2 separate regions of the Homo sapiens genome follow, and region 1 is linked to region 2. The links are contacts of gene promoters, found by promoter capture Hi-C in blood cells and fetal thymus (Javierre and others, 2016). All regions are on one chromosome and are shown on one strand. Each heading gives the region's core, a stretch centred on a gene start or on the middle of the fragment in contact. The rest is flanking DNA. Distances are from core to core; before and after follow the strand shown.

The links. The method cuts DNA at HindIII sites, captures the fragments that hold promoters and counts their contacts. A CHiCAGO score of 5 or more calls a contact.
Region 1: the fragment with the promoter of SFRP1 here is called in contact with the fragment with the promoter of ZMAT4 in region 2 in 3 of 17 cell types (naive CD8 T cells, M0 macrophages and naive B cells); the score reaches 9.1 in naive CD8 T cells.

Annotation. Positions count from the first base shown.
Region 1 is chr8:41,307,335-41,310,976 of GRCh38, reverse strand. SFRP1 (secreted frizzled related protein 1) reads left to right here and starts at 1,504. Exons shown (of 3, transcript NM_003012.5): 1 at 1,504-2,361. The coding sequence starts at 1,818. RefSeq lists enhancers at 1,784-2,554, 2,555-3,326. The HindIII fragment of the contact is 12,075 bases long and covers 1-3,642 here.
Region 2 is chr8:40,895,757-40,899,553 of GRCh38, reverse strand. It overlaps ZMAT4 (zinc finger matrin-type 4), which reads left to right and starts at 1,728. Exons shown (of 7, transcript NM_024645.3): 1 at 1,728-1,871. The HindIII fragment of the contact is 2,974 bases long and covers 1-2,631 here.

The DNA of each region.
Region 1 (3,642 bases), core at 255-2,754, 410 kb before region 2:
TGTCTCTGTGGAGCGCTAAGATCTGTGACCCCTTTGCCACATGGGGTGTGCGCTCAGACTGGGCTATGAATATATCAGCCTCTCTCCACCCGCACTTAGGGACAGAAGATATGGAGACTCCAGGAACTTCATGAACTATTTGCTGTGGTCTTCTGTCCCGGGATAGTCCGGGTCTCACTCCCAGCTCTCCAGAGCTTAACCCTCCCTCTCAGGGGAATGTTTGAAACCTACGAAGAATTCTCAGGAATTCGAGGTAGAAGGTGGCAGAGAGACTTCTGTTCCTGGGGGCCGAGCTGTTGTGCTGATACCGTCCTCTTGGCGTCTGCCCTAGTGGGGACCCTTGATTTTAACTTGAAGTTCCTGGACTGGGTCTAACCTTAGCATGTGTGCCTGAGTGATGGACTTGGTATTTACACCAGCCACGCTGATAAGTGCACATGTGTTTTTAATGTTTTGGCTTTCCACACCACAAACACACAGATGTGCTGTCGCCCGGGCTAGGACTTGAGTAGGGTTTTTCTATTTAAATATATATTATATATTTAAAAAAGTGTCCTCCCAGAGCTAATACCGTTGCTAGCAGCTCTTCCTGCCGCCACACCGGGCAAAGTCCACCCACTGCCCCAGTGTTGAGGGCCACCATGGGCGGCCCCACCTGGAGAGGTGCTGCTCACAGCAAACAGCTCCAACTGCGCCTTCGCCTCGCCTTCCAGGGAGCCCAGCCAGGCCCACTGGGTATTTACAAGCAGACCTCCCTCGCTTCAGCCTTCCTGAACCCCTGTTAGTTGGGAAACCACCTGTCTGCACCGCAGCTAGAGAACCGAGGAGAGGAGCCGCTAGTCTAAAGGGCTGTTGGTTGAAATTAGGAAGCAGTGTAAAGAAAAAGAAAAAAAAAGTTTGGGAGGCCAAGGCAGGAGCATCACCTGAGGTCAGGAGTTCGAGACCAGCCTGGCTAACATGGTGAAACCCCGTCTCTACTAAAAATACAAAAAATTAGCGGGGGCATGGTGGCACGCGGCTGTAATCCCAGCTACTCGGGAGGCTGAGGCAGGAGAATCGCTTGAACCCGGGAGGCGGAGGTTGCAGTCAGCGGAGATAGCGCCATTGCACTCCAGCTTAGGCAACAAGAGCGAAACTGTCTCAAAAAAAAAAAGTCTTCATAATTTCATGGGTTTGCAAGTATGATCCAGGCTCCCCGCTTCTCTGCAAGCCAATGCGAGTTAATTACAGCGTCCGCCCTGGTCTCTCTCCACCCCACGCCGTGATCCATTCCCCTTCTTTTTCTCCCCTTGTCTCTTTCCTCCTCCCCCTTTTATTTATGTATTTTTGGTTTTGTTTTTTAAGGGGTGTTGAGCCGCGTCTGGTTCTAGTAAACCGAACCCGCTCGCGAGGGAGGCGATTGGCTCCCGCGCCGGTGACGGACGTGGTAACGAGTGCGGCTCGCCCCGCCGGGAGCTGATTGGCTGCGCGGGGCGGCTCCGAGGGCTCGGCCGTAGGAGCCCCGCGCACTCCAGCCCTGCAGCCTCCGGAGTCAGTGCCGCGCGCCCGCCGCCCCGCGCCTTCCTGCTCGCCGCACCTCCGGGAGCCGGGGCGCACCCAGCCCGCAGCGCCGCCTCCCCGCCCGCGCCGCCTCCGACCGCAGGCCGAGGGCCGCCACTGGCCGGGGGGACCGGGCAGCAGCTTGCGGCCGCGGAGCCGGGCAACGCTGGGGACTGCGCCTTTTGTCCCCGGAGGTCCCTGGAAGTTTGCGGCAGGACGCGCGCGGGGAGGCGGCGGAGGCAGCCCCGACGTCGCGGAGAACAGGGCGCAGAGCCGGCATGGGCATCGGGCGCAGCGAGGGGGGCCGCCGCGGGGCAGCCCTGGGCGTGCTGCTGGCGCTGGGCGCGGCGCTTCTGGCCGTGGGCTCGGCCAGCGAGTACGACTACGTGAGCTTCCAGTCGGACATCGGCCCGTACCAGAGCGGGCGCTTCTACACCAAGCCACCTCAGTGCGTGGACATCCCCGCGGACCTGCGGCTGTGCCACAACGTGGGCTACAAGAAGATGGTGCTGCCCAACCTGCTGGAGCACGAGACCATGGCGGAGGTGAAGCAGCAGGCCAGCAGCTGGGTGCCCCTGCTCAACAAGAACTGCCACGCCGGCACCCAGGTCTTCCTCTGCTCGCTCTTCGCGCCCGTCTGCCTGGACCGGCCCATCTACCCGTGTCGCTGGCTCTGCGAGGCCGTGCGCGACTCGTGCGAGCCGGTCATGCAGTTCTTCGGCTTCTACTGGCCCGAGATGCTTAAGTGTGACAAGTTCCCCGAGGGGGACGTCTGCATCGCCATGACGCCGCCCAATGCCACCGAAGCCTCCAAGCCCCAAGGTAAGGCTGCCTCCTCCCACGTGCGCGAGCCGCCCCCTCCATCCCCCGGCCGGAGCTGCAGGAGAACCCGCGCCACCCTACGCCCGCCCGCCGCTGGGTCCCGGTGCTGGGGACTGAGGGCCCGAGGTTGCTCGCATGCTGTGCACGTGATTCCTAAGCGCGTCTGGTCTGTCCCAGGTATCGCTCAGCGCCCCTCGCGACCCAGGTGCACGGCGGGGCTGGCCCGGGAGCGGCAGCTCTGCGCCTTGGCCTCGCAGGGACTCGCTGTGGTCCCCGGAGCCGCTCTTCCTGGGATCCAACTTCGCCTTTCCCATACCTGAAACAAAGCCTTGCGCTTTAAATAACAGGGGAGCTTCCCTCTCCTCTAGGAGGACTCCGAGTCCCTATCGAAGTTTTTAACCTCTGAGACGGGAGGAAAAAACAAAAACCCAAAGCGTAGAAAGTTCAGAAAGGCCGAGAGAATGCTTGGAGCAGCTTTTGTTTATTTTCATAGGTTCGACAAAGATTTAAAAAATAAAACCAAGCCCTTTCCTTCACTGGTCATTCAGTCAAGTAGCCTTGGGATTGCTGCAAAACTGGCTGAGAAAGTTTAGGAACCGTGGGGACTTCTGTTTCTCCACCCCTTCCAGGTACCAGCTCTGCCCTCGGAGGGCTGGGGGTGGAAAGTCTTTTCTCCCTCCCTCTAGCGTACCCCCTGCTTTTCTCATTTACACAAATCCTCAGCTCATTAGAAAGATAAAAATGTAATTAGCTCATTGTTCATCTCCTCCCGGGGAGAGCAGCTCTGCAAAATGCAGACTTTCCTAACAGCCTGAGGGACCGGCCCGAGGTTCCTCTCAAAACCCCCTTATGTTTAAAGAGCAATTCTTGAGGGGGAAGAAAAAAAAATCCTGGGAAGTCAAATAAAATGAAATAGATATAAAGATAAAATATACACATCACAGACCTGACTTCTATAGAAGTAAATTCAACCCAGAATTCTTTAGAAGCGAAGTTTAGGCTCTGAGGTGTGGAGAGGGTCAGGGATTGGGGAGCTGTACCCCAGCTGCGCTTAGCACAGACGCAGGCTTCCTGAGGGCTTTTTGAGGAGGGCCTTTAGGGTGGGGGAGAAAGACTGCCTACACTTAGCTCACCTTAAAGTGTCTTTAACCTCTGTTATTGATGCTAAAAGAGGGGAGTGCAGTCACCTGGCTCCTCAGAGTGAGGATTTGGGCAGGTGGGGGAAAGGGATACCCCAAATTTTAGATGCTTTTGCTTATTCTAGGGAGGGTGGAGATGGGT
Region 2 (3,797 bases), core at 479-2,978:
TCACATTAGGGTAAATGGGGTATCTGGCACCTCAAGCATTTAGCATTTCCTTTTGTTACAAACAATCCAATTGTACTCTTTCAGTTATTTTAAAATGTACAATATGTTTTGCTGACTGTAATAACCCTGTTGTGCTGTCAAATACCAGATCCTATTCATTCTATCTAACTCTATTTTTGTACCTAGTAACCATTCCACCCCCGCCCCTTCCTAGCCTCTGGTAACCATCATTCTATTCTCTCTGTCCATGAGTTCAATTGTTTTAATTTTTAGCTCTCACAAATGAATGAAAACATGTGAAGTTTGTCTTTCCATGCCTGTTTTATTTCATTTAACAGAATGTCCTCCAGTTCCATCCATGGTGTTGTAAATGACAGGATCTCATTCCTTTTTATGGCTGAATAGTACTCCACTACGCATATGTACCACATTTTCTTCATCTAATTTATCTGTTGATGGACACTTACATTGCTTCCAGATCTTGTCTATTGTGAACAGAGCTGCAATAAACATGGCAGTGCAGGAATCTCTTCAAGATACTGATTTCTTTTTTGGGGGTATATACCTAGCAGTGGGATTGCTGGATCAGATGGTAGCTCTATATTTAGTTTTCTGACAAACCCCAATACTGTTCTCCATAGTGGCTGCATTAATTCACATTCTCACCAGCAATGTAGGAGGGTTCATTCTCTTTTCTTCACATCCTTGCCAGCATTTGTTATTGCCTGTCTTTTGGATAAAAGCCATTTTAACTAGGGTGAGACTTTATGATTTCTTGGTGAACAAGGAAAAGTGTTTAAGCTGTCCCCACCCTTTGATGGGTATGTTCTCTCTTCACGTGCGTAGGTTGTTGATGAAAGTCTAAGCGATTAATTTAAGCCATGTCAGAATAAACCAAAGTGAGGGTCCCAGCAGAATCATTCACTCTAGAATGCTCGGCTTTCTGGACCTCCCAGTGAGAACAGTGAGAAACTCCAGAGTTTTATGGATTTTAAGAATAGCTCTTCTGAGACTCTTTGGACAGGGTGCAAAGGAAAATTGTCTCCTCAGGTTGGGGGATGAGGGGGACTGTGAGATAAAGTACTGATAGATAAACTCCAGGTATGCACCTACTATGCTCCCCAAGCAATCTGCCATGTCCTTCACATGTCCTCCAGGGTGGCCCTGTGAAAAGCATTACTCCATCCCTTCAGCCCTCAACCTTGCTCGGCTTTCTAGAGTCTGTCTCATGCCGGCAGACACCCCATAGTTATTATTCTCTCTGCCCTCAGCAACATTTACCAGTTAGGGGGAAAATAAAGCCAGAAAATTGTTGCTATGGGCTCTGTTTTGTGGAAGTTAAAATGCTAGAGCAAGAATCTGATTGCTTGATAGCTCCATCTCTCTCTCTCTCTCCCTCCTACCCTCCTACCCCCCCACAGTTTCTCCTTCTTTTCCTCTCCCCTCCACCTCCTTCCCCCACCCCGCTCCCCCACATTTTCCTACTCCTCTCCCCTCTCTCCACTGGCCTCCCGGTCCTGCCCCCACATTGGGCTGGAGGAGAGCCTTACAGGTTGTCAATGAAACATGGAATTATTTCCTTTGATGGCTTAGATAATAGTAGGAGCCAAAGCAATGAGTGAGGTCGGCTGAAACCAATGCAGTCCTGCCCGGGACTGGAGAGCCAATCGCAAGAGCAGAGGGCGGGGCGTCGGAGCCAGCAGATAATTGCTAAGTGCATCGCTAGCACAGTTGGTCCGAGCTGCCGAAAGGTCTGGTCGCAGAGACAGGAACGTGTAATCCTCAGCGTGCTCCAGCCCACAGCTTCGCTCTACTGCTCGGCAGGGCAGCTGGCCTCTGGGCACCGGCGGCCCCTCTGCCTCGCGGAAAAGGTACCTCTGCCTGCGTCCCGGGGGTGCAGCGCCTGCGTCTCCATTGCCAGTGGCTTTGCAGTTTAGCCTAGGTGGAGGGATTGCAGAAAGAAAAGTTTCTGGGAGGGAATGTGATAAAGGTGGGAAATCACTGTCTTTTGTTGGGAGGAAAACAAGCGGACAATTTGGGAAACTTCTGCGCTGGCAAGAAATGGGCTTGTTTACTACTCCTAATTAGCTGCGCTCAGGTCTGTCTAAATAGGTCTGGTCTCAGGCTAGGGTGTCTGCAGGGCTGGGGTGGAGATTCGGGTGTGCTGGGTGAAAGAAGTTGGATCCCAGGGTGTGCTGTTTCCTGGTGCACCCATCATGGATAGGCTGGTTCCGAGAGAAACGTGATTGGTTGTTTGTGTTTTCCGCTATAGGGTCTGTCCCCTTCGTATTACCTTGATCTGCCTTCCCCAAACTATTGTGACCTTCAACTGGAGTCCTTCCTCAAACTTCTGCCTCCTTCCTGCCTGTCTCAGTTCATTTTATTTGGTGGAAGGAGACATTCCCCGGGGTGGGTGGGTGAGGATGGTCTATTCTGTTTGACCTGGTGGGCACCTACGTGACAACTTGGTGACACGCCAGCAAAACAGTTCTCAGAGGAGAGGAAATCACATAATTAATTAGCTCCCGAAAACTCTGGAAGACTTTCCAGGCTTGGGGTATCCTGAAAAAAAAAAAAAAAGAAAAAGCCAAAAAACGGGATAGAGAGTTCGGTTTGGTACCATGTGAAGCTTACACCCTTGTCCCCAGAAGGGGTGCCTGGCCCGGAGCATCCCCGCAGCTCTGGGAGGTGGAGGCTGGTGGAGGGGGTGGCTCCGTGTAGGTGCGCAGGTTGTTTTGGTGCACAGGTGCATTTGTGGCAGAGGTGGTGCTGAAGTCACCATCCACACTGCTTCTGCTAACTGCTCTTGAAGTAAAACAGCTCACCCCGGCAGGCAGCTGGTTCAGCCCAGAAGCACCCTTGAGCATTCTAAATCGCGAGACCTCAGGGGCCTCTCTTGCTCTGAGACCCTTGGGAAACTCCTTTCTCCCCCTGCCTCCTCCGCCTTTGGCTTCTGCTAAAGGGAGATATTAGGTAGGTGAGTCACTAGGAAGCAGGGACCCATGGGGAAGCAGGCGATGTGCTTGGTCTCGAACTTTCTTCCTCTTCTGCGAAGGCAGCTTCTGCTTGTGTGCCCACCGCACTTCACCAGTTGCGCTGCCTACCTGCGGGATACTCTGAAGCTGATAGTCTGGGGGTGATCTTCCAAGTCCTAGGGGCATTGAAGAGTTTAGATGATTTTCATCCCTCTGATTTCCGTTAAACCCGCAGCTGGGGAGTTCGATTCCCAGTCCTGACAAGACTGCATGTTCTGGGAGGGATTCTCCAGTGACACCTCTTCCTCAGGGCACCCTTCCACGGAGATGCAGATGACAGTCTTGATTCTCCAGCTCCACAAATCCCTTCCACTTTTTAATTCTTATTTTCTTTAACCACCACAACAGATTCTCCTCCACCTCCTGTAGGCAGCTATTTTGGGTGGGAACTGTGATTATTGAAACTCTATTCACAATGGTTAAAAAAATGCCTGCCCACTTTTTTTTTGGGGGGGGTGTCAAAATACCATCAGCGTTCTCTTCTGTACTTCCTATCTGACAGTAAACAAAACAATTTTGCAGCCCTGCCAATTATAATCTTTTTGTGTTTGGGGGGCCTGGAGCGGAAGCTGAACTTTTCCCAGCCGGTGGGCATGGTTAGTCATGGACGTCGTCCTCTGTGGCCTCTCCAGGGCACGTGACCCCCAGGGAGCCCAGGAGGGGCAGCCCCCAGCACGTGGGGGATCTTGCATGAGAGCACCTTGGTTTTCATGAAGGCAGTAAGGAAACCAGAAAATGCTTTTGAGTTTGAGGATTGCAAAA